6 separate regions of the Homo sapiens genome follow, and regions 1, 2, 3, 4 and 5 are each linked to region 6. The links are contacts of gene promoters, found by promoter capture Hi-C in blood cells and fetal thymus (Javierre and others, 2016). All regions are on one chromosome and are shown on one strand. Each heading gives the region's core, a stretch centred on a gene start or on the middle of the fragment in contact. The rest is flanking DNA. Distances are from core to core; before and after follow the strand shown.

Region 1 (4,254 bases), core at 1,137-3,636, 1.0 Mb before region 6:
TTAAAGACTGACACAATATGTCAGTTGTGTTTTGAGCAGAGCAGAAGATGAAAAGAAGGCAACTGGCATTTACTGAGAATATGCCATATAAAAGGTATTCTGCTAGGTGCTTTCACATAAGAGAGGTAATGGATTTAGAAAAGAAAAAGTGTGAGGAAGTGGAGGAGGAGCTGATGTACTATTACTAGGAAAATATTTACATTGCTTTCATTCAGCGAGAAGATTACTAGCGAGTGAAGAAGTCTCCCATCCTCATTAAATATTGGCTTTTGTCACTACTCTTTTTTCCTTTTATTTTTAGTTGACATGTAATAATTGTACTTATTTTTGGGATATAGAGTGATATTTTCATGCATATATACAATGTGTAATGATCAAATCAGGGTAATTAGCATATCCATTACCTCAAATATTTATCATTTCTCTTCTGTTGTCAGTTTTGTGTTCTCTCTCCAGTTGAATTAACATTTTTTTCATACAGATGGGCAGGCTGTAATATAGATCCTTATGATTCAACTTTCAGTTCTCTCTTTAACTGTCTTTTCTTAGCTGACCCTCAGTATACTTCCAATCTTTAATCTCTGAATTAATTTGAGAAAATTCAATGAAAACACACACAAAATTATTAGGATAATTTCACATAAATGGACTCTTTCAAACTCTAAGAGTATGCCTTTCTTAATGTGTAAAAAAATACCAAACATTAGGTAAATTCCATTTTCACTGATGGAAAAAAGAAATTCTGATGCACATGCTCCTGTTTGAGCAGATTCTCCTGTTAATCAATGGGTCTTTCATTTTATGTATGAAATGTTCCCCAAAAATATACCTCAGATAATGTCTTCAAAAAGCATGGGAACAGACTATTTTTAAGGCACTGTAATTTTCACATATTTATATCATGGATAAATTTTACTCAATAACTTAAATACTTTTACTTATGTATCACTGTCTTTGGTTAGCTCTAATTTGAAGGGATTGGTTTTTTATCTACATTTGCTTTGGACACAGTTTTCAATCAGAAAATGAGTTATGATTGGCTTCCAAGAAAGGTGTTGTCCTGTATTCTACTAATTTTAGAAAGTACACAGGACCAGTCTCAGAATGGAGTATGTGCAAACACCATATTATTTACAGCAAACTAAATATAATGCCTTGATTTGGCACTGCCTGCTTGATATTTCTCTTGAAAACTGTTACATATGTTTGTTTTGAGTTTCTGCCAAAATAGCAAGATTGTTAAATATCTTTCATGTACTTCTTGTTAAATGCAAGGAAAGAATTATAGATTACCTTAGCTTAACTTTTATACAACAGTCCAATGGGCACTAAATCTTTTGGAAGAAAAAATAAATATTCAAATTATAAAGAAAAAATTACTATTGTAATCACAAATGTATTACGACTGTTAACATGCCAATATTCAGTTTAATACCTAAACCACCTCTACCCATAATAATGTGACTCATTTCTAAATTACATGTAGAATACAGTAAGATTGTAATTATGCGGGGGCTGATTATCTAGGTTGTCAATTATTCAAGGCTTTTGCCTCCCTTCTTCTTCTTCCTGCTGTCCACCTTTTGGACAGTTATCACCTTGTTAGTATTTCTACTCCTTGCTTGTTAGTGAGATTGGCAGGGGAAGGGAAAAGGTGTGAAAACTTAAATCAGTAGATATTATTACTTGCAAGAATTTTCCATAAAAATTGGTGTGGAAGAGTTCGAAGCTAATTGCTAAAATCACACTAGGGATATGTGTATTTCACTTATTCTTGTTTATCCAGTCCTCCATGTATCGGAGAGAGTTATAAGTAAGATGTAAGCTTTCAAGGGGCAGAAAATCATTTCTGATAGAACTTTCTAAGAAAAATATTGTAAACGGAAACTATCTGAAGAACCTTATATAAAATAACCAATCTTAATAATTCAAATTTTTGTGCTTCAGGCAATTATATTACCAAATATTATATTTGCTCCCCAATGGAACTGTTCAAACACATCATTAATTAAACATATACAAAATATACTTGATGTGGCTTTTTCTTTGGGAAAAATACAAATCTGAAAGTGAATGTTTCATATATTTATATTCTTCAGGTATTACAGCATATAATCTATAAGTTTAAATATTATGATCTCTTGTATTTAATTTTTTATTTCTCCTTTCAGCAAATCTGGGTATATTTGAAAGTATTTTCCAGTACATATTTTTAAACGATATAAAATTCACCTGAATTAGAACATATCCCTTTTTTCACTTTCTCTAAATCTGAAAACTTCATGTAAACATTAACTTTTCAATTATTCACTCATAAAATATTTATTGAACAGTAACTCTAAACACAATACACAGCAGACATTGGAGATAAAGTGGTAAGCAACCCAGACATTGCTTTGCCCTCACAATGCCCCCAGTCCAGCAAAGACAGATATTAGTCAAATAATCCCACAATCTCTTTTGCACTCACTATTCAAGGTGAACCCTACCAAAGAATGTAGAGAGCAGAAGGAATAATCAAAGTACTCAGGTTTACTAGACTCCTGCAATTTCCGGCCAACTAGTAGAGTCCTTGAGTGAGACTTTCCCTAGGTCCTCTATTACCACCCTGAAGCTGATAATTGGAACATATGAATCAATGTGGAGTTACAACAACATGATTTAGAATGATACATTTTGGAGACAGTGGGAAAACCAGTAGGCCTATAATATTCAGAAATCACCTATATACATGCTTGATTTTGTATATTTGTTTACAACCTGCCAGCGTTCTCTGTTTTCTCTTTTGTCTTTGGTGAGGATCCCCGTTAGTACTATTCTCAGTGATCTGTTTTTTTTTTGTTGTTGTTTGTTTTTCCTGCCAGTTTCCGAAATACCACTTTTTAAAATGCCTAAATTTGACTTGAATGTTCATATTATTATATTATTATGGGAATGGTTTATTGTTTTAAGCTTCCATGTCTTGCAATGGATAGGTTTTCTGTAGTGCAGTTGATAAAAATTTATCTTAGACTTCTATCACTAAAAAAGGGTTAAAAGAAAGCATTTATATGCACTTCGTGTTCCCTCTCCAATTGAATTAAACCTTTTCTTTAGCTGGGCAGTCTGTAATACAGACTTACAATTTAACTTTCAGTACTTTCTGAAAGTTACCTTTCTATTATATCTTATATGTCCAATTTATGGTTGATAATAAGCAAATCTTTTTAAAAAATACTTACTATTATGATGGGTAGTGAGTGATCCAGATGGTGTCATTCAAGATGGTGGAGACTTTGTCATATTGGATACTTGATGACAATCTCTGCCCTGACCTTCTTTGAATATGTAGCCTGAATGGGAAATAACTTTTTGTGTCTTAACTGAGAACCTGGTTTGTTTATTAATGCAGCCTAGCCTGGCCTATCCCACTATTATATTTTTTAAAATACCAGTTATCCCTATGATATGTCTACTTACTTCTAAAGTAGGATTAAAAAGAAAACTAATTCCCAATTATAATTATCAACAGACAGGCAGCTATAAGGTACTAACAACGGGGGAAGTGGCATTTTCTCTTGTGTGTTATTCCCATCTAAGTTGTTTACAGAAGGAAAACAAAATGTTATTAATAATAATTTTAATTAAATATTTTATGTAGTAAGAATTTCTATGTTATGTATGTACATGTATATTTAGAAAAAAAAAATTGAAGATTTTATTGAATAGAAGTCTTTCCTTGTAGACTACAGTAATTGAGCCCACCCATTACATTACTGTGGAGGGATAAGAAGATTTTGGTGGTTACAGTAGTCAGATGCACTTTCACATAGAGTTTAATCAAAATTAGGGTCATGATTAAAGCCATTGGAGTTATTAATTGAAATATTTTTCTAAAACATTAAATTTTTTAAAATATATTTTCAAGTGAAATAGAATGAGAACATTTGTGTCCTCTTGAGGTGATGACTCAGGCATAAAATGGAACACAAGGTGAATACTTACCATCTTGATAGTCAAAAGAGGTCCCGCTCTGTGCTTCTGAGACAACGACGGACTTGCCCATTTGAATCATGTTTATGACACATTTTTCCTTATCTGGACATACCTATGCCAGAATATGTTCAGTCTACACTTCTGGAACTTGATCAATCTCTTCCTTACATTTGTCAGGAACTCTCTAATTGCTGATTAGGAACATGCAAAATTTCTATTATGTACACTGACAATATTCTGTTTAATTAGCGAGGTCCTCTGGGAGTCTATTTCCTCTAG
Region 2 (4,323 bases), core at 1,680-4,179, 1.0 Mb after region 6:
GGCAGCCTCCTGCAAGCCAGGAAGAGATCCCTCACCAGGAACTGAATCTGCCAGCACCTCAATCTTGGACTTCCCAGCATCTAAAACTGTGAGAAAATAAATTTCTATTGTTTAAAGCCACCCAGTCTATGGTATTTGTTATGCTATGGTATTGGTTATGGTGGCTTGAACTGACTAATACACTCTCTAAACTTTAGTGTTCACATATCTAAAACAAAAATTTGCAGGAAAAAATAGACAGAATAGCCCATGAATAGCACATGGTATAAAGTAAGCTATATCTACTGAATTTTGCTTTAAGTAACAAGCCTTCAAAAGGAAAAGCTAAAAAAGGATATAACATGAATTCTATATGAATAGCCCTATTCATTACTAAGTGCCTCTATGTGCAGCAAGGATGCCCTTGTCACCCTGAAGAAGTCTAAAGGCTACACAATACATGTGAATTCCTTACCATCGAATATCAAGATGTGTTTGAAAACCATCATCAGAGCCAATGTGTGAAATTTCTGGATTATTGTAAGACACAGAAGAAGAGTAACTGGTTGCTTAAAAAATGAGACTTCCTCTATGCCTTTCTGATCTTAAGATAGCTGTTGAGTTTTTTGTTTGTTTTATTTTTGCTATTTGCCTTTATTTGCACAAGAAGATTTTATCTGGCTTCCTGGAACATCACAGGATTTTGTTTTGTTGTGGTTTGGTTTGCTAATTTGTTTTATTTTGGCCTTTTGCCTTCATTTGGAAGGGAAGTTTTTATTTGGGTCTCTGGAATGATGTAGGAGATGTGTTAAAGTCATATAGACAATATTTGAATATTGTGCCTTTGAATTTATATAAGGTAAATTTGATTTAGTAAAGTTACTCTCATATATGAGGATCCACTAACTGTGAAAACTGCTCTGTCCTATGTATCACCTTATTTGAGTGATGGAGCTGGGTAGACAGATGTCCTCATCCAACTCAGTGTGGATCACTGGAATTATGAACACTACTCCCCAGAGAGTAATAGCCTTCTTCAGAAAAGGATAAACTAAAAATTTGTAACTAGGACAAGCCCTGAAAAATAGGCAGCTCAGGAAAGGAAAATAACAGAAACAAAGGTCATAAAGACCCTATATTAGAAATCCTAGTGTGATATAAGCCAAATATTGGCTTAGAGTTGTGACATGCATATTTAAAACAACACAAAGAAAAACTTTAAACCTAATATAAATAATAGCTAGCAATACATCAAATCTACTATGTTTTTAATACAAGTGCAAGGAAACAATTTTCTGATTTATTCAAGTTTAATTCAATCAAATCATGAAGCTATGGGTAGATTGCAATATCATTCAAGGGATTAAGCCACTAAATTCAATTGGGGCTTTAAATAGATTATCTAGATCAGTGTTTCATGAAATAACTCAGTAAGATAATTTCAACACTCTTTTAGATATAAAAGTAGACACATTCATTTGGTGCACTTATCACCTAGAAACATCATTAACTGCACTTTTAAATATTCCTTTTGCAACTTTATCTATTTCAGGTTTAGGGGGAGTACTTTGAGCATGTTGGGCATATGGCAGAGATGGCTTCATGTTGAAGGGTCCATGCTGAAGGTACACAGTAGTATTGGGGCCACCTGGAAGCAGTCAGGATGTGCATAGGTTTTAAAAGGCAGCTTCTCCTGTGGACTTATCCATATATCTATACAAAATGCTCTGTGAATGCGGGTTGTTTGAGTCTTAAGAGGTAGTCTATGCAATGATTTTAAAACTGTACTCATGAAAATGTAAGGAGATCCTTTGAATGTCCTGGGAAATAAGGGAAGAAGAAGAAAAAGAGAAAGGTATGAGAGGGGGGATTCTGAGACTTTCAGCCCTGACATCAACCATTGTAGTTGTAATTGCTTTGCTTTATATTGTGTTCCCATTCATACCACATAATTTAATCGGGTTAAAAATAAAACTGAATGAAAATACAGGCTTATAGAAAACAGAAAAGACTCTTCACATAGAGTGTGAAGAACAGTAGACTATTGAATCACTCTGTAAAAAAAAAAAAAAGCGTCAGCCCTCTAATGAGTTCCCCAATTTCTACAGACTATCACCTTTTTGGAGAGATAAAGCCCTAACAGCAAAAATCCCTTTAAAAAGAAACACAAAGTAACCAGGATAACCAATAGTTAAAGGAACCCTAATTCTGGATTTGTTTAAAATTCATTCAAAACAAACTTTTGTTCATTAACCTATTAAGACAAAGGTAGAGAGGGTTTAACTCAACCGGAATGAACAACATTTTTGTACTAAGGGAATTGTTCTATAATATGAAGATGTCTTTCCAAGAAAGATTAAAGCTTTAAGAGAAATATATAATTGGTTGACCACTTATTACCCGGAGTATTTTCCTTCTTTGAGGACTATTGTATTTTTTAAAAAGTAGCTATTTTTATTTTAAAGTTACTTGATTAATAAAATATTTAAGAATATGTCCAATCAAATATAAACGTCAAGATCAAGATATAGAGGCATATAGACCACCTGTCTATATAGAGAGATGGATAGATAATTTTCATTTAGTTTTATTTTTAACCTGATGCATATATATCTTTATCTTGCTGCCATAACAACCATGAAATAAATGAATTGTATTCACCACACCCAATAGAAATTGGCTTCAGTGAAGAGGGCTGTTTCTATTTGAATATAGGAATAATTTGTTTTATTTTATTTTATTTATTTATTTATTTATTTGAGACGGAGTCTTGCTCTGTCGCCGAGGCTGGAGGGCAATGGTGCGATCTCGGCTCACTGCAAGCTCCGCCTCCCAGGTTCACGCCATTCTCCTGCCTCAGCCTCCCGAGTAGCTGGGATTACAGGCGCCCGCCACCACGCCCAGCTAATTTTTTTGTATTTTTAGTAGAGACGGGATTTCACCTTGTTAGCCAGGATGGTCTCGATCTCCTGACCTTGTAATCCACCCGCCTCGGCCTCCCAAAGTGCTGGGATTACAGGTGTGAGCCACTGCGCCTGGCAGGAATAATTTACTGAAATGAGTTCATTCAAATCTATTTGAGGCAAAGAGTATGACCTTAGGCAATAAAATAAAATCACTAAATTTCTGCATTAAAAAGAAATTAAATTCAATGTAATAGATGTCGCAGCTATTAAGATTGATTTTTGCTTTTAAAAATTCCAAGTAAGCTGGGGATAGAAGGAAAAATACCTTACCATAATGAAGAGTATCTACCAGAAATACCCACCCAACATTAACCTTAATATTGAAATGTAAATGTTTTCATTATTGTAAAAAGGCAGACCACGATGACCATAACCATCATCACTCTTCACAATTTTACAGTATATCACAAACAAAAGATATTGAATTTATAAAGAAACACAATGAAACTGTCAAGTTTGTTGATTATACGGCTTCATAACTAGATTATCCAGGACAATTCATGAAGAACAAAAACCTGGTGAGAATTTTTCTGAAGTATAGCATTCAAAAGACAACATACAAATATAAAGAAACAAGCTTCTTATACAATAACAGTTATGTTATATATTTGTTAATATATTATACTATAATATTATCTTATTACAAAAGAACTTATAAGAATGGGAGAAAGACACATCAAAATAGCCAAAAAGTCATAAAACAGAAATGAATTTAGCAAGCATTCTTAAGATGTTATGAAGAAAATTCTAGAGTCCGGACTAAGGAAAGGTATGCCATGTTCTCATATGAGAAGAGCCCATCTTGTAAAGACGTTTATTATCCCCAAATGTTCTAAAATAGTTCACTGCAAGTCAAAATCTCTGTAGGTTTTGTGTGTTTGCTTGCTTGTTTGTTTATAAAGTTTGACACACGTTCTCACACTCATCTGAAAGAGAAAGTGCACAAGACTAGCCAAGAAAAATCTGAAAATAAAAGAGGTAAGAGATGGAGGTAAGGATGGGCATTGGGAAATCTGTCTTTAATATTATATGGGTTAGAACTGTATTGTCAAACAGGAAAGGTCAATAAAAAGAATGTCTATAAATACAATATTATCAAAGAATAGAGACTCCCCAAACATACACATGCATATGTAGAAATTTATATTTCCAAGAAGTTATTTCAATGTATTAGGAAAAGAATATATCTTCCAATAAATAAGACTGGAACCCATTTGAAAAAAATTAAATCTTAGCTTTTTATGATAATATAATAGTAATTTCCAGGCAGCTTAAGGAGTTAGAAAAGTAAAAATAATTTAAAATCTATAAAAGAATAGCAGAAAATATAGAATATTTAATATAATTAGGTTGGGAATGCTTTTCCTAACAATACATA
Region 3 (4,218 bases), core at 531-3,030, 1.0 Mb after region 6:
ACTATTGCACTACAGCATGGGTGACAGAGTGAGACCCTAACTCAAAATTTAAAATATCAAAAAAAAAAAATTTGAGTCAGTGAAGTCTGCTTCCCAGCAGAGCAGAGATGAATCTACAGAAGGCATCCTGGAGAAATGGCAGCATCACTTCAGCCTTCTCCACCCACATCCTCTCTAATGAGGCTATTCACTAGTGGGGTCCATTCTCAGAGGTCACTCCAGTGGGTATCAAACCAACCTCCAGAGAAGTTAGACCTGTGGTCAGACCCCAGAAGAGTTCTTCAATCCAGGGAAACATCTTCAAGATTTTTCTTCATGAAAAAAAATCAGTTTTAATACATTTTTCTTTTTAATGTGTGTTAAATAACCCTGAGAATACACCTCAAAAATTTCAGTGATGCCATCATCACCAACAGCAAACAGAGATTAAAGATTTGTATGTCCCCATTACTTGCCATAGCCTGTCCAAGCTTGGTTTGGATGATTGACTGCTTTGTCACCCTGGAACTCCTGGAATCCCAGTGTATCCTTTGGGGGAGACCTGGAAGCATGAGACCCACAGCTTTAAGCCTTTCTTTTTTGGGTTCTGGATTACTTCTCTGGGAAACTTTCCTTCATCACTCCTTCTAAAGGGTAATCTGAGTGTCCTTCCTGTGGACTGGGTTCCATTACAGCACAGAGGATTTTTCTTAACACTGCATATTTTAATTAGCTCTCTTGTCTGCATTTCCACTAGACCGTAAGCTCTCTCATGGTACAGGCTCTTTCCTCTTTTCCACTGTGCATGTCTAGCACCTAGCAGAGTGCCTGGCAATGGTTGGTGCTCTCTCTATATTTGCCATATGAATGGATGAGTGCTAGAGCTAGAGGTAATGGTGGCAGAGTACATACATCACAGGTTAATGGCAACAGATTCCAAGAGGGAACAGAGGGGTTTATGGGACATGAAGTCAAGTCCCAGGCTAATATAGCTCCATGCCTCTAAACAAACTTAGTGACTCCAAAGGTATTTGAGCCTACTTGTAGACATTCCAGTTTTAAATTTGCATGTTACAATTCTGGTTGTGACTTTATACTTACAAAGCAGCAGCCAAAGTTATAGCTATACTACCGGTAGGTATGTACCACAGAGAGATGAACTGGCCCAAGGGACAAGATGTTCCTGTAAACAGGCATTTGCATTTGAAAATGTGGCATTTGGGGTACAGTACTTGGTGGCAGCCAAAACTGCCTTCAGAGAGAAAGTATAGATGGAAGAAGAAAGTGAGAGTGGAGGAGTGTGAATACATATGCATCATCTCCTTGGCTCAGCAGAGCACAGCAGCAAAATAATGCATATGCCATGATGATTAATGCCCTGGGACTCAGTCATGCTTTGCAGATCCAACAACCAGCATCTCATACCTTGGGCTGATGGAGAACCCAATGCAATCTTACTAAGACTAAATGCAAAGAAATGTTCTAGAGGAAAGAAATGTTGTAGTGACAATTCAATGGAAAACACAGTTTTAAGTATATTTTATTTCTGTAAAAGTTTATTGGGCATAAGCAATTATGTTTATGTTTTAACAAAAATATACTGCTATTTCCTAAAAAGAAATTCAGGAAAACAACATTTTTTTCCTCTCAGCCTACATAAGTGATCACTTACTGCTGGAATATGAGATTAGGTAGTGGTAGACAGGCTATAGCAAGAGAAGACACGATCAAGGCCCCAGGGTAATTTGAAGAGGGAGGGAGAAACTGAAGAAATGAACATGAGTGTGTGGACCAGGCATCCATTATGCTGAGGACAAGTATGTAAAGGCCTGAGTTCAGGAGGCTTTTTTCAGTATCAAGAAATCCAAGTGAGAACTAAAAAATAGGGACATAAATTCTCCTAACCATAGAGCAGATTCTACAGGCAAGAGATACAAATATCTACCTTCCTGGGAAATAAAGTGTTTGAAGAAAATAATGAGACCTTCAAACTCCTCTAAGGCATTTTAGAAAGTCTAACTGCAATAAAGATAAGAAAGTTGGAAACTTCCACATATTTAGACTATAAAAATCAAAGTAATAGCTAATAGACAAATTACATCTACTTTTGCTGCCCCCCTCCCCCAAAATTAAAATATTGCATAAATTGAAAGGTCATGGACTTAAACAAAATAAAGAGAAAATAGAGACTGATTTTGAAGATTTATTATTTTGAAAACATCTTAACCAAAATATTTTAGAGGTTGAAAATATATGTGGCATCTATAAAAATGTAAATTTGGGCAGAGAACTGGTTTGTTTTAGAAAAACAAAACTCACTTTCATCACAAGACAGAGAAGCTCAGGTCTTTCCTTGCAGCCGTTCTATACACTTCAGTGCTTTGAAGGAGCTGGCCATGAGCACGAATTACTCCAGTATTTCTATTTGCTCTAAACTCCATTCCAACTCTGCCTTCACTTCAGATTTGTAGTCATATCCGTGAGCCTCTCACCATTTCTAATGATCTGCCCTTTTTTATTTGTCTCGGTATTTCCTTTTGTATTTGTTTCTTTTCCTTATTTAAATACATTTTTCCCATGATTATCTCTCTGTTGCAGATAATTTGTAAAGTAGAGAGGATCCCACTACCACCAAAAATCATCATGAACATTTGTCTTAACCTCCCTAGTCCTTTTTTATTATTGATTTTAACCAGATGAGATAATTATGCATAAATAACTATGTATATTCTCTTATTACACTTAAATAGTGTATCTTAAAACACTATCTTGTTACACTTAAACACTAACACTACCCGCTATAATTTTCTTTTATCACTAATAACTAATCACAACATGATTTTAATAGTGATATGACAGTCCATACTATAGCAGAACCATAATTTTCTAGTTTGATAGTAATCTAATTTTATTAAATATTGTTATTTCTGATAGTTCACTGTTAGAAATAATAATGTGATCAAATTTGAACATAAATCTTTGTCCATATAACTATTAGTATAAATCCTTACATTAAAAAATAGTGGTTTAAACCCCATTGAAAAGTAGGCAAAGGATATGAACAGACACTTCTCAAAAGAAGCGATATATGTGGCCAACAAGGATATGAAAAAAAGCTTAATATCACTGATCACTGGAAAAATGCAAATCAAAACCATGATGAGGTACCATCTCGCACCAGTCAGAATGGCTGTTGTTAAAAATTCAAAAAAATAACAGATGCTGGCCAGTTTGCAGAGAAAAGAGAACACTAATACACTGTTGGTGGGAGTGTAAATTAGTTCAACCATTGTGGAAAGCAGTATGGCAATTCCTCAAAGAGCTAAAAGCAGAACCACCATTCCACCCGGCAATCCCATTACTAGGTATATACTCAGATGACTATAAATCATTCTACCATAAAGACATATGTATGCGAATGTTCATTGCAGCACTATTAATGATAGCAAAGACACGGAATCAGGCTAAACGCCCATCAAACGACATCAATGACAGACTAGATAAAGGCAATGTGGTCCATATACACCATGGAATACTGTGCAACCATGAAAAAAGAATAAGATCACGTCTTTCGTGGGAACATGAATGGAGCTAGAGGCTATTATCCTTAGCAAACTAATGCAGGAACAGAAAACCAAAAACTGCATGTTCTCATTTTTAAATGATAAGAACTTATGAACGCAAAGAAGGAAACGACAGACACTTGGGTCTACTTGAGGGTGGAGACGGGGAGGAGGGAGAGGAGTACACAAGATAACTATTGAGTACTGGGCTTAAAACCTGGGTGATGAAATAATATGTACAACAAACCCCCATGACACGTGTTTATCTATGTAAATGAACCTTCGTATGTACCCTCAGAACTAAAAGTTAAAAAAATAGGGGTCTGAAAAATATAACTATTTTTAAGTCTCTTGATGGATATTGCTAAATTATTGGCAGAAAGATTGTACATGAAGTTACTGATCTTGCAGAACTCCCAACAGCTTTAGTTATTACCAGTTAAAAGTCTTTGATAAAATGTGCTCTGTGGAAAATGCTTACTAATTTTGCTTTATTTTCCATTTTTAAAAATTCGCCCTTCATATTTTACAAAAAAAAGAGTATTTTTCATACTTTGCTCATATTTTAAGCACTTCCGCTTTCTCTTTTGTTATTTTCTTCAAATGTATATGAAAATCACAGTTTCTTACATGTGTTGGTTATTTGTCTTCATTTTGTTTATGATATACAGAAATA
Region 4 (4,243 bases), core at 833-3,332, 1.4 Mb after region 6:
CAGCTTCAAAAGAATTCCATTTTTTAAAATTCCAAGACAGAAAATAAAAACAAGTGAATCATAAAATAAGTGATCGAGGTCCCATCCAGGCATAAGATAACCTCCTGACCCCTATGTCCCCATCAGTGAAATGGATGAGGCCCATATTTCAAACTTAAGCAGTCTGCACACTATGAAGCTGCATGGCGAGGCCGATGTCTGAGGTCAGCACAAGTCTAGTGTCTGCTGGCTGCCCAAGCCTGGGCCCCTGGCCAGCAACCCACCTCCAGAGACAAGTGCCAGGACATACTATAGTGTTTCCATTTAAGGCCCGCCACTTGGATCAGCCCATCTCTGAAATTTCTTAACACCACCTTTCCAGGAAGAATTTTTTTGGGGAAAAGGGAGGTGGTGTCTATTTTTTGCCACCGCCTTCCCTTGGGCTGTCAGAGCAATCTGCATCTCTGGGACAGGATTCTTTAAAACCACTGGGTTATGTCTCAATTCATGGGCCTCTTCTCAAAAATATGTAAAAACATGTATGGAACGGGCCCCTTTGCCCATCATCTAACTCTTATCATACATCCCTCAAAAAAGAAAGAAAAGCCCAATAAAATTGACAAGTCCATTGTATTACCTTGCTGCCTCTCTCCAAAAGCCAAATTCATGACAACTTTTTAACCAAGACTTTTCTTCTGTTACTAAGTGGAACGTTTTCTTCTCTAAGTAGCTTTTCTCCCATGCAAGCAGCGTTCAAATCTCCAGGGGAAAGGAGGGGTGGGGAGGGGGTGGGAGACTATCTGGCACAAACTGGACAGAGCCGAGCCAGTCTAGAACCCGACGGAAGTTACTGAATCCAGCGGCCCCAGAGGCCCACATCTCTTCTTAGTGCGCCCGAGGTTCTAGCCTCACTGTTTTGGTTACAGTGTTGAAGGAAGGGTTTTAAACTTGGCAAAGTACCGTGCAACATCTGTAACCACATTTGCCTTCTGGGGATCGGAAGATGAATCCCACATTCCTGGCTTTGAAGCTTTTTGAAACTGCAGCTAGGAAGAACCGAGGGAGGGAGGGAGTTGAGCAGAGTTTATTGGCTGTCTCTCCAGCAGAAAATTCCTCTTGGAAGAGATGGATATTTTGAGGGTGGGGGAAATTCGCCTATCTATCTCCTTACTCTCTACAAGCTCAGCTAGGAAGGTAAGCCCCGTGGCCCCGCGGCCAGATCGATTTACAAGTCAGAGTCGCACACCCTGAAGGAGTTCACAACACACACACACACACACACGCACTCACACACACCCCAATACAAACCTGAGACCCCCGCTCCACGCCTCTGCCCCCCCACCCCCCATATCCCACCAGCAGTTCAGGCCCAAAGCAAGACAGTTTTGTTCCGCGGCTGCTTCCCCCACGGAGAGGGGATCAAGCTTGGGGGAGAAAGGAATGAAAGCGAGGGGGAGGCACCGCAGACGCCCACCCTGCCACCCCCGATCCCTGCCTCTTCTCCCGCTAGGCTACCTCCTCCCTCAGTCCTCCCGGCTCCAGCAGGCGCGGCCGGCGACCTGCGCTCACCTCGGGTCCCGCCGCGGCCGGGGGCTGAGCCGGGGGAGGCGGAGTGCGAGGCAGCCGGGCGCTGCAGGTCGGCGCGGCGCGGGGCGGCGCGGGGCGGGGCGGGGCGGTGCAGCCGGCGAGGGAGCCCGGAACTCTGCGGGGCCGGGAGCCGGGGGCCGAGGGCCGGCCCAGAGCGGCGGCGGCTGCGGTGGCTGCAGCGGAGCGGTGCGTGGGGCCGGGAGCTTCCCGGCCCTGGGGCCGGCGCGGCTGGCCGAGGAGCAGGCTGGCAGCGGCAGCGGCGGCAGCGGCAGCCACCCGGGGGAAAGAGCCGGGGGAGGGCGGGGAGGCGGGGTGAAGAGGAGGAGGAAGGGGAGGAGGGCGGGCAGAATAAACTTCCCGAGGCGCAGAGGCTCGGGCTGGGAGCACGACCGCGGGCGGGGCGGGCGGACCAGCTGGGCTTGCCCCCGGGGGCGGCGGGGGAGACCGTCACAGAGAGTAGAAAAGTTCCCCCTGCGCCGAGGGGGAGGCTGCGGCGGCGGCGGCGGCTGCAAAGAGCAGGAGCCGGAGCGGGAGGAGCGGGAGGAGGAGGAGGAGGAAGTGGCTGCGGAGCGCTCGGCCAATGAGTGTCTGGAGCTGTGATTAACCAGGCAGCAACACATCATTTCCTCCCGGCGCGGATCCAGGGAGCCGGGAGGGGAGAGAGGAGGCGGCGGGGCGGGGCCGTCCCCGCGCCCCCTGCAGGCGCCCGGCCGAGGGCGAGCCCGCCGAGCCCCGCCGAGCCTGACCGCGCCGCCCCCGGCGCGCCTGGCGCTGTCTGGCCGGTCGCTTGGCCCGGGTGGAAGCTATGAGCGCGCCGCCAGCGGGGCTCCTCGGAGGCGGCGGGGCAGGCCCGAGCTGGGCTCCTGTGGCCGGGGTGGGAGGAGAAGAGGCCGCGCGGCACGGGTGAGTGCCCAGGTAGGCGCGGGCGGGGCCGTCTGGACAGCTCCCGAGGGCGCGCGGGGCAGGCGGGCGGACGGGCGGGCATCCCGGGCCCGGCGACTGCGGGCGGCCACCTACTCGAGCCCTGCATGTCAGACTTGGGCTGGATTCTCAGAGAGAAGCCTTAGCATTCTCATCCAGGCCATCTCTGACCTGCCTTCAGATCCCCTTCCACTTTGCTCATTTCCTTGCAAGGTCTAGGGTTATGACAGAGCTTGCCATGTTCGCCTTTGGCTTCCTTAGTAACAGAAATAAGCATGGAGGGGCTTCTGCAGTGATCTAGCCCTGTCCTAGGCGCCATGGGAGCTTACAGTGGAAATGCAGGAACATTCTCCGCTGCAGAGAGTCTGATAACCTCGGTCCTTAGATACACAAAAACACCCCAGTGTGCTAATATTACCCAGAGCATCAAAAAGGCATGCAAGGATCAAATTTTGCATGGTTCCTGCTGAGTGTAAAGGAAAGCACTAAGCCATTTTCTCTGCCCTCTAGAAGCTTATAATGTACAGTCCTATCACAAAGCAGAATAAAAACATGAAACCTATAAATGGGAATGCCATAAAGTATTTTTATCTCTACAGGTTCATTCATGCAGAGGGCATTTATTGGGTGACTGCAGTACTGCAAAAGGTTGCAAAGGAAATGGAAGATCTGGTCCCTGCAGGTTGGGAGTTTACAATCTAATTAGAAATACAAGGCATATATACGTGAAAAAACTAGAATCCCCAGCTGTAAGCAAAAGGATGGAGTAGGTGGGAGCATTTTTTTCATAAAGAGAGCTTTGTACCTGTATGATTGGTGAGGAGCAGGAGAGGCAAGTTCAGTACCAATCAAGGCAAGAGCACCTATATGTATCCCTGCTCTATAGAATGATGTAACAGGGCCCTCATTGTCACTTGGCTGAAGTGTCAGCTCTGCCACTTACAAACTGTTTTGAACTGGGGCACATTTTTAACCTAAGAAGGGAATACAGGTTGTCTCGTGAGGTGGTTGTGCAGTTCAAATGAGATTACAAACGTGAAAGCTTGTGAAGCTCAATGATGTACATTCATGGAGTCCTCATTGTACAAACTGGCCCTTCTTGGTAACCTTTAGAGTTCCCTCCCAGGCTGTAAGCTGCAAGAGGGCAGGGACCAGGTCTGATTGTATTCATCATGTATCACAATGTTTAGCAGAAGGGTTCATGTGGGTGTTCAATAAAGTTTTGCTGAGTAGGTAAATAAATGAATTAATGAATCCTGTTATGCTCTGAACAGTTCCTATTATTTGTTCCTTAAGCAGTTCCTTCAATAGTGGTCTTATTGTATGGCTGGCTCAGTGAAAAACACTCTAACTCAACCTCCTGTGACTTACTAGTGTGCCAGGAGACTGGGAGAATTCTGGATGGTACTGTCAGAGGCATTCAAACCAGAGAAACTCCATTTTGAATGAGGGCTAGGAAAATGAGACTGAGACTGGCTGGGCTGCATTCTCGGGAAGTTAGGCTTTCTTAGCCTCTAGATGTTTACAGCTAAGGGAACAAATTAATAGTGTTTACTAAACAAACCCAGACTTGGGAGTGTCCAGATATCCCGATATCTGGAGAACAAAGGCATTCCTAATTTTGCTTTAAAGATAATATTGATTCTTGCAAAATATAGTAATTTATTTATTTATCACAAACTCTTGTAGCAGAGCACATCTCCCTATATATACGAGCGATGTACCTAGCATGGAATCGTTCCTCCTCTTACTTTCG
Region 5 (4,499 bases), core at 644-3,143, 1.1 Mb before region 6:
GCCTTTTACAGATAAGCTAGGCCTATTGCTTCAATCCCAAGAGTCTATAACATACGGGTTCTGTTTACTACACAAAACTGCAACTTATCAATATTATCAGGCTACTCAAATAACAGTTGAGGTCAGGTTTAAAAAAAACACAAATTTAAATATCTTTTGTGGCAATATATTGAAAAACATCTAGTTGTTTTATTGATTTTTCTACTTGTTAATTGGTTAAATCAAGGTTGTGTTGTTATAACCATAGAGACGTTTAGGTGAAATAAATAGTAAATATAGTAGTAATTAGGCACCACATCGATAGAGCAGCAAGAGAGAGGTTGTGGTTTTTCAAAATGATTCAATATATCCTAAAATTTATATTGAGATTTTAGAGGGTGAATTTGATTGTAGTAAATATTTGTAAAATATGTTAGTGAACTAATTATCAGCCAGTTTTTCATTCTCATGAACAATTTGTGGAAATAAACTGGCATGTATTAAAGCAAAAAAAAATGCTTTGACAAAGCCAAAAAAATCAGATTTATAAGATCTCGCAGGTTATCAGAATGATAATGTCTAATAACCTCAAATAAATAAGTTTTTTTCAAAGAAATTAAAATTCTTCACATGCATTATTATTCAAAGTCTTATGGATTTACAGCTGTTATTGTAGCTCAGGCCAAAAAACATAACAAAGTAAGAAAATTCATAAAACCAGATAATTTATCAATAAAATTATATATTTTGTTCGAAATCATATAAGAATAACAAATATAGAAAGAAAGCAACGAAAGAAAAGGAGGAGAGAGAGCACAAGCAAGAGAGAGCATGTGCAGAAAGAAAAATACAAAGTGTAAAAAGTTGGAGGAAGAATTTAAAACATAAAATGTGTCTTGATTTTAATTAATTATTTAATGAATATTTTCTTTAACAATATACAATTTAGTTTATAAATGTTTTCAACGAAAATATTTATTGTGAAATCCAACAGGTATGCTCCTAACATTGTTATTGGACCACACGCATATCTGTTTTTATTGTATTTGGTCTTTGTCTTTTAACTGGGAATGGGAGCTGTAATTTCCCAAGTTTTGCTCTCAAGTCACATTATCAGGCAGAGATTATACCTGCCTTATTTATGTTTTCGTGTTGTTTGGTTTGTTACTAAAAAAAATTCCTATAACCGAGTACAGATTTATATATATATGACAAATAATTTGGACTTGCACTCACCTATTCTTCACTAATAATCCTGAATTAGAATATGCAACTACTAAAAATAAGTAGGTAAATAATCACAATATACTAAAAGTAACTTCATTTTATAATAGTTAAACTGAAGAAAAATCTGCTATTTATTTTAATATTGTTACTATGGTGGATAAGATGAAAGATACATAAGGAAACTTACAGAACAAAAAATAAGTGAATAACAAATGACCCTTAGCTCTTTTAAGAAGATATAATGCTGACTTTTTAATTTATTTATCAGAAAGGGAGTCTTAGTATCTGTTTATTACTATTAAAATCAGGATATTTTAATTTTTCTACATATAAACTAAAAATATATGTAGGTTTCCATGGCATCAGGTAGCACCTTTCCTGTTCGAAAAAGCTTATATATTAGACAATTGAGAAAATTTTGTAATATCATCTGAAATTTTAGGGATTGGAATATAAAATTTGTTTTCTGCATGAAACATTAAAAAAGAAAGGTACCATGTCATTACACATTATTGAGTGAGGGGAAAGTGGGTGATGCAACATCTTTATACCATAACATTTTTTTTTCAATTTTGGGGGTCATATGTCTACATAAAACACTTTAGAATATAGCTGATATAAAAATTGATGTGAAGCAATATTTCGAATGTTATACATTTTTATCCTGCACTGGGATATCTTCCCTTACTCTGTTCCCTGCCTATAGATGATATGCCTAAAGTGTTAAGGATAATCTATCAAACAACACATTTTGTTAAACATCTGCTGAAGAAGAGTTCAAAGTCTTGGAGTGCAGCCACAAAGACCAGAAGTAGAACAAAGTCAACTCTTCCTGTTGCTCCACTCTTTTAAAAATTTTATTTATCAGCTACTTAACGGGCCCAGAAGTTTGTAGGTGGAAAATATATTAGAGATTACTTTGTCAGATCCACACATTTTTTTTTCCCAGAGGAAACTGAAGCCGAAGAACCTGTCTCTTAAATTTAAGCTTATATAATTAACTAATAGTAAAGATAATCCTAAAATCTATTTCCACTGATTTTAGTTCTTATTCTTTTTTTATTTCAGTTCTTATTTTTAAATCACTTTTGCCCAAATTTCAGGCAAGCAATTACAATTAAAATGTGTATTCCTATAAATTTATATTTCTCTCAATAAAGGTATAAGTTGTTTTCAAGTTTTAACAGGATGATGTGATAAGTAGTCATTGCCATGGAGAAACATGAATTATGATCTTGAAGAACTTTGACCTCCATGTTTTAGAAGAGCTGGTTTTATGCTGGAAGCAAAAAGTGGAGATGGGTAAAAGAAAAGAAATAACTAATGATCATTTTGTTAGCTAAAGTTTTACAAATACTGTTTTCGAAAAGCAAAGGTTAAATAAAAGATATGCTTTCAGTACAATTGATTGTAAAGATCTATTGAATGAGAAAATATCAGAGATGCTATAAACTCAGGTCACAGACTGATGGAAAATCATAGGATGTTTTACTATTGAACATGAACTTCCCACATAAAAATAAGGCTGCATAAAAAGGCAAAAAAGGGAGGGAGTTCATTTTGTCCTTTGTGTTATCTTGTATGGATAATTTATCTAACACTAAAACAGACATTGGGAGTGCTCTATTATTTCATAGAATATTAAGTTAAAGTGCTATCTAATAGCCAAACACTTGCCTTCTAACCTTAACCAGGATTTCAGTTAAAAGATCAGTTTAGAATCTCATCACTAGATGGCATTGTTACACTTGAATACAATTTAAATAATACAATGACCAAATGAGCTAGTTAAATTAGTAGACAATTATCCCGGTTCTCCTCTTCCTTTTATGAGATGAAGCTGGTTACTTAGCCTGCAGGATAAATCCTATAGGATGCCCCACTCAGTCAGGGCTGCTTTTTCACAAGCTCTCTCTTCCCAGCTTTCACCTCAATCTGTCATACAGATTTGACACCGCATCGTTCCAACAGTACTCAGAAATGACATGTATATAATGTGGAATATTGTGCACATTTACAGCCGGGGCTCTTTCTCTTAAACATCGCTGGCTATATCTTGGCTTCTGGATTCTGCCTTGCTCAGTGTTCTTTACTTTTCACATATAAATGGATGCCTAACCCAAACTTTTATTATTACGATTATCTTAAAGCAAAACCAGAGGACAGCATACCTGATTTCTGTCATTTTTTCTGTTAGTATTTTCAAGCTTCCACTGAGCTTCCTGTAAGCTAATGAAGGCCATGGGACATACAGGGCAATGCTAACACATGATATTTTTATGATTCAGTTCCATGAATACTGCAAATGAAGTTAAGTGACATTCTATTGAAAGAGGTTCTTCTTTACTTCTTTATTTATTTCCTTAAGATCAACAAGACCAGTTCAATAAGCCTAGCAACCCATTTTCTTCCCCAGAATAGGCCTTAGCTTTGTTTTCTTATGTTATCATAATCTAGCACTTTTCCTGTTCTAAGTGAAAACCCACTGAAGAAGCAAAACCATTCCATTATGAGTGTTATCAAAAAGCAATACCATGCTGTTTTTAAATGAATACAAATCCAAAATGCATTGTAAAGTGTACCCAGCCCACACTTAGGTGACATCACCCACACATTCTGTGTGTGATTACTGTACATCGCATCTGCATATTTCACAAGAAGTACAATGCATTGTGGGTGGTGGTTTCTATTTACAAGAAGGGATGCTGGAAATACCCACATCACAAAGTGATATTTTTGTTTTATTAACATAATAGGGCACAGTTGTTTTGGCAGATTGCAATACAGCTGTAGTATATACTTTCTGACTAGGATTGCTACTTTATTCTTTTTCAAATGCCCTCCTCCATCCCCAAATCTGTACTTTCCCATGAATCTGAAAAATGAACTCTTTACATTCTTCTAACAGAAACCTTCTGAACACATACCTTCAATTCCTATGAAGAGAACATTGAAACCACAGGGCAGAGCGAGCAACAATATAAGCCACCTAATTAATTAATAGTTCACTATAAACAATGAACTACATGTAAATATTACAGTCCTTTTACATCCAAAGAACTAAGATTACACATGATAATTTTATTTGGCATTAATATGCACTAAGCAGAAGAATTTCTGCAGGAATTTATAATATAATGCAAACTTCTGTTAGACTGCTAACAGGCAAGAGGAAACTGGAAAAAAAAAGGGCTGGCTAAGTTAGCCTACAATCATCACTTACTTGAAGGAAAAGGCAGATCCTATTAGCTACAATTCTCAACACTCATAGTACTAAAATGTACAGTAATATA
Region 6 (3,901 bases), core at 877-3,376:
GCCACCATGCCCGGCTAATTTTTGTATTTTTAGTAGAGATAGGGTTTCACCATGTTGGTTAGGCTGGTCTTGAACTCTTGACCTCGTGATCTGCCCACCTCAGCCTCCCAAAGTGCTGAGATTACAGGCGTGACCCACTGCGCCTGCCCGGCCACAAGGAAGTTTTTAAAGGAAAAGAAGAGGCAGTTTCTAAATTGTTTACCAATAATTTACATAAAAAAACAAACTATTAATTGTCTATAGATTGTTCTTCGTATCACAAATTCCAGGAACATGAAGATATGGTTGGGTAGTCAGTCATGAACAAAATGCCTTTAAACAATCGCCTCTGAGCATGAGTGTGGGGGGTGCAACTTATGTCCCATATTCAAGGTCTCTCTGGGCCTGATAAATTTTGCATACCTCACATTGCTCAAATGCTCTGAACTATTTTTCTTTTCTCAACTACAATTTCCTTTTTCTGGTTGCTCATGATTCAACTGGGGGAGCTTTTAAACCGTGGTTCTCAAACTTTAATGTGCATCAGAACTACCCAAAGGGCTTGTTAAATCTGGGTAGCTCAGCCCCAGCCCCAGAGTCTATGAATCAGGTCACTGGAGTACAGTTTCTGTCAAGTTCTCAGGTGATGCTGATGCTGCGGGCTCCAGTGACTACACTTTTAGAGCCAGTTTTAAAATACAAGGACTTGCAGATCCCACGTCCAGACTGACTCATTGGACTTGGGGATGGAAATCTGGCATTCCACCCCTCCCTGCCCCCTCCCCCCAATTTTAATGTGTCCAAGGGTGAGAATCATTGCTCCTCTGTGGACTATGGATGGTTCCCTGAAGTTACTGAGTTTGGGATTTAATAAATATATGCATTCCTCTGGGTCAACTACAGGAATTCTGCGGTATTTAAGGACATTAAATGAGTGACTTAATACTTTATTTAAAAAAATACCACTGCTTTTTGGTTCACACTAATTTTCTTCCTTCTTTTGGAAAGGCATTTCCGTCCATCTCCTGGATATTTTCCAATACCACGATAGAAAGGTTATTAGTACAGCACCCAGAGGTCTTCGGAGCAAAGCTGTTAAAGAAGTGGGGTCCATTTGAGCCCCAACTTTGCCTTCCTTAGGTCCCCTTGGGCTTGTCTAGCCCTAGGAGTTCCAACAAGTAAGCTGGGCATGCTCAGTGGGCAGGGTCGTTTTTTTTTTTTGGGTGGCGGGGGGTTGCAAGTGGGAAGCCTGCTGTTCAGCTGCCGGGGCTCTCCGCCTCCCCCCACCTGTATGAGGCTGGGTCTGGGGAACCTGTGCTCAGCATTCCACCCCCTGGAGCTTGGGCTTGGTCTTCCCTGCGGGTCCCTGCGCTGACATTCAGGCGGGGAGCCAGGAGGCCTGGCGCGCCTCCAGAGCCCGCCGGGGGAGCCGGGCGAGGGTTCTGGGCTCTGACGGCGGGGTCGCAGGGTCGCCCGCCTCCTGGACACGTCTGTAGGCCTAGGGAAGCCTGCCGGCCGGGAGGTACAGAGTAGGAGAAGCCAGATCCCAGGGCGGACAACGAGAAGTCGTCAGGTAAGCCAGCCCCGCCAGCGTGCCGGCGGACGAGTGTCTCCTCTCCCGCAGGCAGATGGCCAGGGCGGCCCGCATGGGCGAGGGCACAGGAAATCGGACACCGCCACCGTCTTCCCCAGCCTGGCCTAGCTCAGGCTTTCCAGTCCGCCAGCCCGCTGGCAAGGCGGGGCGGAGGTCTGGAGTCCGGCATCGCCGAGGCACAAAGCAGGAACTGCAGCCAGGGGCGAGGGCCCTTGCGTGTGGCGCTGCGCGACCCCACCCGGCGGCAGGACCCGCGTCCCCGTCTAGTCACGTTCATTGGGCCACGGAGACCACCTCGCTCGCCGCCCGCTGTTGGCTTTTCCCTCCCACACCCCCGCCAACCCCGGCCCCGGTTCCCGCCCCCACTTCCGCGTTTCCCCGCTGGGCCGGAGGAGCCTGGGCCCGAGGTATCCGGGCAGGAGGTGGCGGCCTCGCCGCCCTGGTCAGGCCTCCGGGAGGGAGCAGGCGCGGGAGCGGGAGGAGGAAGTCGGGAAGAGGGAAGGCGGGGGCGCGGCCCGCCCGGCGCTCGAGTTACACCCGCCCAGCCCGCCTCGAGTGACAGCCCCGCGCGCCTCGCTGGGAGCACCCGGGCCGAGGCTCTGATTCTGGGGGGAGGCCGACTCCACCCTGGCTGGAGGAACTGGGTGCTCCTGCCCGCTGGCCCCTCGCGCGTGAGGATCTATCTCAGGTGTGTGCTTCCTGGGAGACCCCTTCCCCCGCCTCTAGTATTCTAGGGGGGGAGTGGTCCCTTTCTGACCCGGGCGAGTGTTCTGGGACTCCAGTCTTGGCGGTAGGTGGTGGCGGGAAACGGGAAAGATTTAGAATTTCTTCCCACCAGCAGAAGATGGATTCGCTCTTCTCTAGGGTTTCGTTGTTTATGTTTTGGAGGCGGCATTTGTAAAATAGTAAAGTGGCAGGACTTTTGGGGCGAGGGTTGGTACCCCATTGAAAGTTCATGCAAACTTTTAGCTTGTAGATGCGGCTAGTCTGATAAGGATTGTTGCTCCCTTCCGAAGCAAGAGTGAGAACGAGTCTGGAGGAGGGCTGAGGCTTCTTTGAGAAACTCAGCTGCTGGCGTGTGACCGTCCTAGGAGGAAATGGAAGGTGCACACTGATAACTTAAAACAGCCTCCACTCCCTATGTAGTAACTTCTACCAGCAAAAATAGATTTGCAAAGAGTGCTTTGGCAGGAAGGTGTAGCTGGGTGAATGAAGTGCTGCTCTTAGCAGATGGTCTCTAGTCTGGCTTCCACCTTGTGCAGTGGAATATTCACTCCCAGAAGAGTTCCAGAGTAATTTACAAACACAAATTCTTGCAAAGTGTTAGTGACATGGGCAACCCAAATCACACACAACACATTATAAATATCATAGGAGGCAGCTATAGAAATAGCAGCTAGTCAACTTATACTTGTATAAATAGGTGAGGGAAGGAAGTTAGTAAGTGACAGGGAGTCTTTATTGCTAAAACAAAACTGTTAGTATTTTGCATGTGTTCCAAGTTTAAAGAGATGTGAAGTTTCTTTTTGGCGTGTGGACGGTGCTGGCAGCTGTCACACTGGGCCCAGGCACTTCTTCGTAGCTACTGACCACTCTAGTCCCAGTCCTACAGTTCTTGCTGGCTACCACATGACATCTGGATGCCATTGCCCAATGGAGACCGTGTGCAGTCTGGGGAACCTTGTGATGTGGATGTTGAAACCCCCCTCTGTTTCTCACAGGGGCGTTATGTCAAATTACAACACTCCCTTGACTTTTACAAATCAACTCGTGAAATAATACAGCAATATTTTAATGAATAAATGGGTAAATATGGGGTTTTGGGTTTGAGAACCAACAATGGATTCATTGCAACTGTCCATTCTCATAGCTTATAGAGTCACTTTATTTTATAAAGAAATTCTAAACAGCATTAGAGCTCTGCTTCCTTCTTTCTCCCTTGTGATTCATTCAAAGATGCAATGGCTTGGTTCAGGAATTGACAAAAGGGCCACAGTGTTACCAATTGTTAGTGAGTGTTACCACCCCCTTTAGTTTTTTTTGTAACTATTTAATCTCATTGTAGATATTTTAAAAGATTTGATGATTATTGTGCATAACTCATGTTGGCAAACTATTATAACTCTGAACTTATCCTGTTTGGTTGTTTTCTTTCATCTCTAGCGTGTAAGTTCTATGAGAGTAGCAGGGCTTGTTCTGTCTTGCATACTTTCAAAACTCTAATGCCTGGAGTGGTGACTAGCTTGTAATACACCCTCAATAAATGTTTTCTCAATGAGTGACCTCCAATGCCTAGAGGGGTGACTAGCTTGTAATACACCCTCAATA

What was found. The method cuts DNA at HindIII sites, captures the fragments that hold promoters and counts their contacts. A CHiCAGO score of 5 or more calls a contact.
Region 1: a contact is called between a fragment that was not itself captured here and the fragment with the promoter of GPD2 in region 6, in 1 of 17 cell types (megakaryocytes). The highest score is 7.1, in megakaryocytes.
Region 2: a contact is called between a fragment that was not itself captured here and the fragment with the promoter of GPD2 in region 6, in 3 of 17 cell types (M0 macrophages, M1 macrophages and M2 macrophages). The highest score is 5.9, in M0 macrophages.
Region 3: a contact is called between a fragment that was not itself captured here and the fragment with the promoter of GPD2 in region 6, in 2 of 17 cell types (M0 macrophages and neutrophils). The highest score is 6.2, in M0 macrophages.
Region 4: a contact is called between the fragment with the promoter of ACVR1 here and the fragment with the promoter of GPD2 in region 6, in 1 of 17 cell types (monocytes). The highest score is 6.1, in monocytes.
Region 5: a fragment that was not itself captured here is called in contact with the fragment with the promoter of GPD2 in region 6 in 5 of 17 cell types (megakaryocytes, M1 macrophages, M0 macrophages and 2 more); the score reaches 16.0 in megakaryocytes.

The regions. Positions count from the first base shown.
Region 1 is chr2:155,392,447-155,396,700 of GRCh38, forward strand. All of the region lies in intron 1 of LOC105373699 (a long non-coding RNA gene), which reads left to right. Among named protein-coding and RNA genes, the nearest start is that of KCNJ3, 700 kb to the left of the region's middle. The HindIII fragment of the contact is 1,127 bases long and covers 1,824-2,950 here.
Region 2 is chr2:157,447,286-157,451,608 of GRCh38, forward strand. No RefSeq gene overlaps it. Among named protein-coding and RNA genes, the nearest start is that of CYTIP, 5.4 kb to the left of the region's middle. The HindIII fragment of the contact is 1,181 bases long and covers 2,340-3,520 here.
Region 3 is chr2:157,472,454-157,476,671 of GRCh38, forward strand. All of the region lies in intron 3 of LOC105373712 (a long non-coding RNA gene), which reads right to left. Among named protein-coding and RNA genes, the nearest start is that of CYTIP, 30 kb to the left of the region's middle. The HindIII fragment of the contact is 2,625 bases long and covers 469-3,093 here.
Region 4 is chr2:157,874,248-157,878,490 of GRCh38, forward strand. It overlaps ACVR1 (activin A receptor type 1), which reads right to left and starts at 2,083. Exons shown (of 11, transcript NM_001111067.4): 1 at 1,549-2,083. LOC105373714 (a long non-coding RNA gene) reads left to right here and starts at 2,337. Exons shown (of 2, transcript XR_923518.3): 1 at 2,337-2,469. RefSeq lists silencers at 1,555-1,764, 1,855-1,904, 1,915-2,134, 2,195-2,434, 2,455-2,644 and an enhancer at 2,030-2,324. The HindIII fragment of the contact is 1,597 bases long and covers 1,402-2,998 here.
Region 5 is chr2:155,374,422-155,378,920 of GRCh38, forward strand. The region is part of intron 1 of LOC105373699 (a long non-coding RNA gene); the gene reads left to right. Among named protein-coding and RNA genes, the nearest start is that of KCNJ3, 680 kb to the left of the region's middle. The HindIII fragment of the contact is 597 bases long and covers 1,596-2,192 here.
Region 6 is chr2:156,434,253-156,438,153 of GRCh38, forward strand. GPD2 (glycerol-3-phosphate dehydrogenase 2) reads left to right here and starts at 2,127. Exons shown (of 17, transcript NM_000408.5): 1 at 2,127-2,261. RefSeq lists silencers at 1,229-1,398, 1,839-2,248 and an enhancer at 1,639-1,688. The HindIII fragment of the contact is 5,965 bases long and covers 1-3,901 here.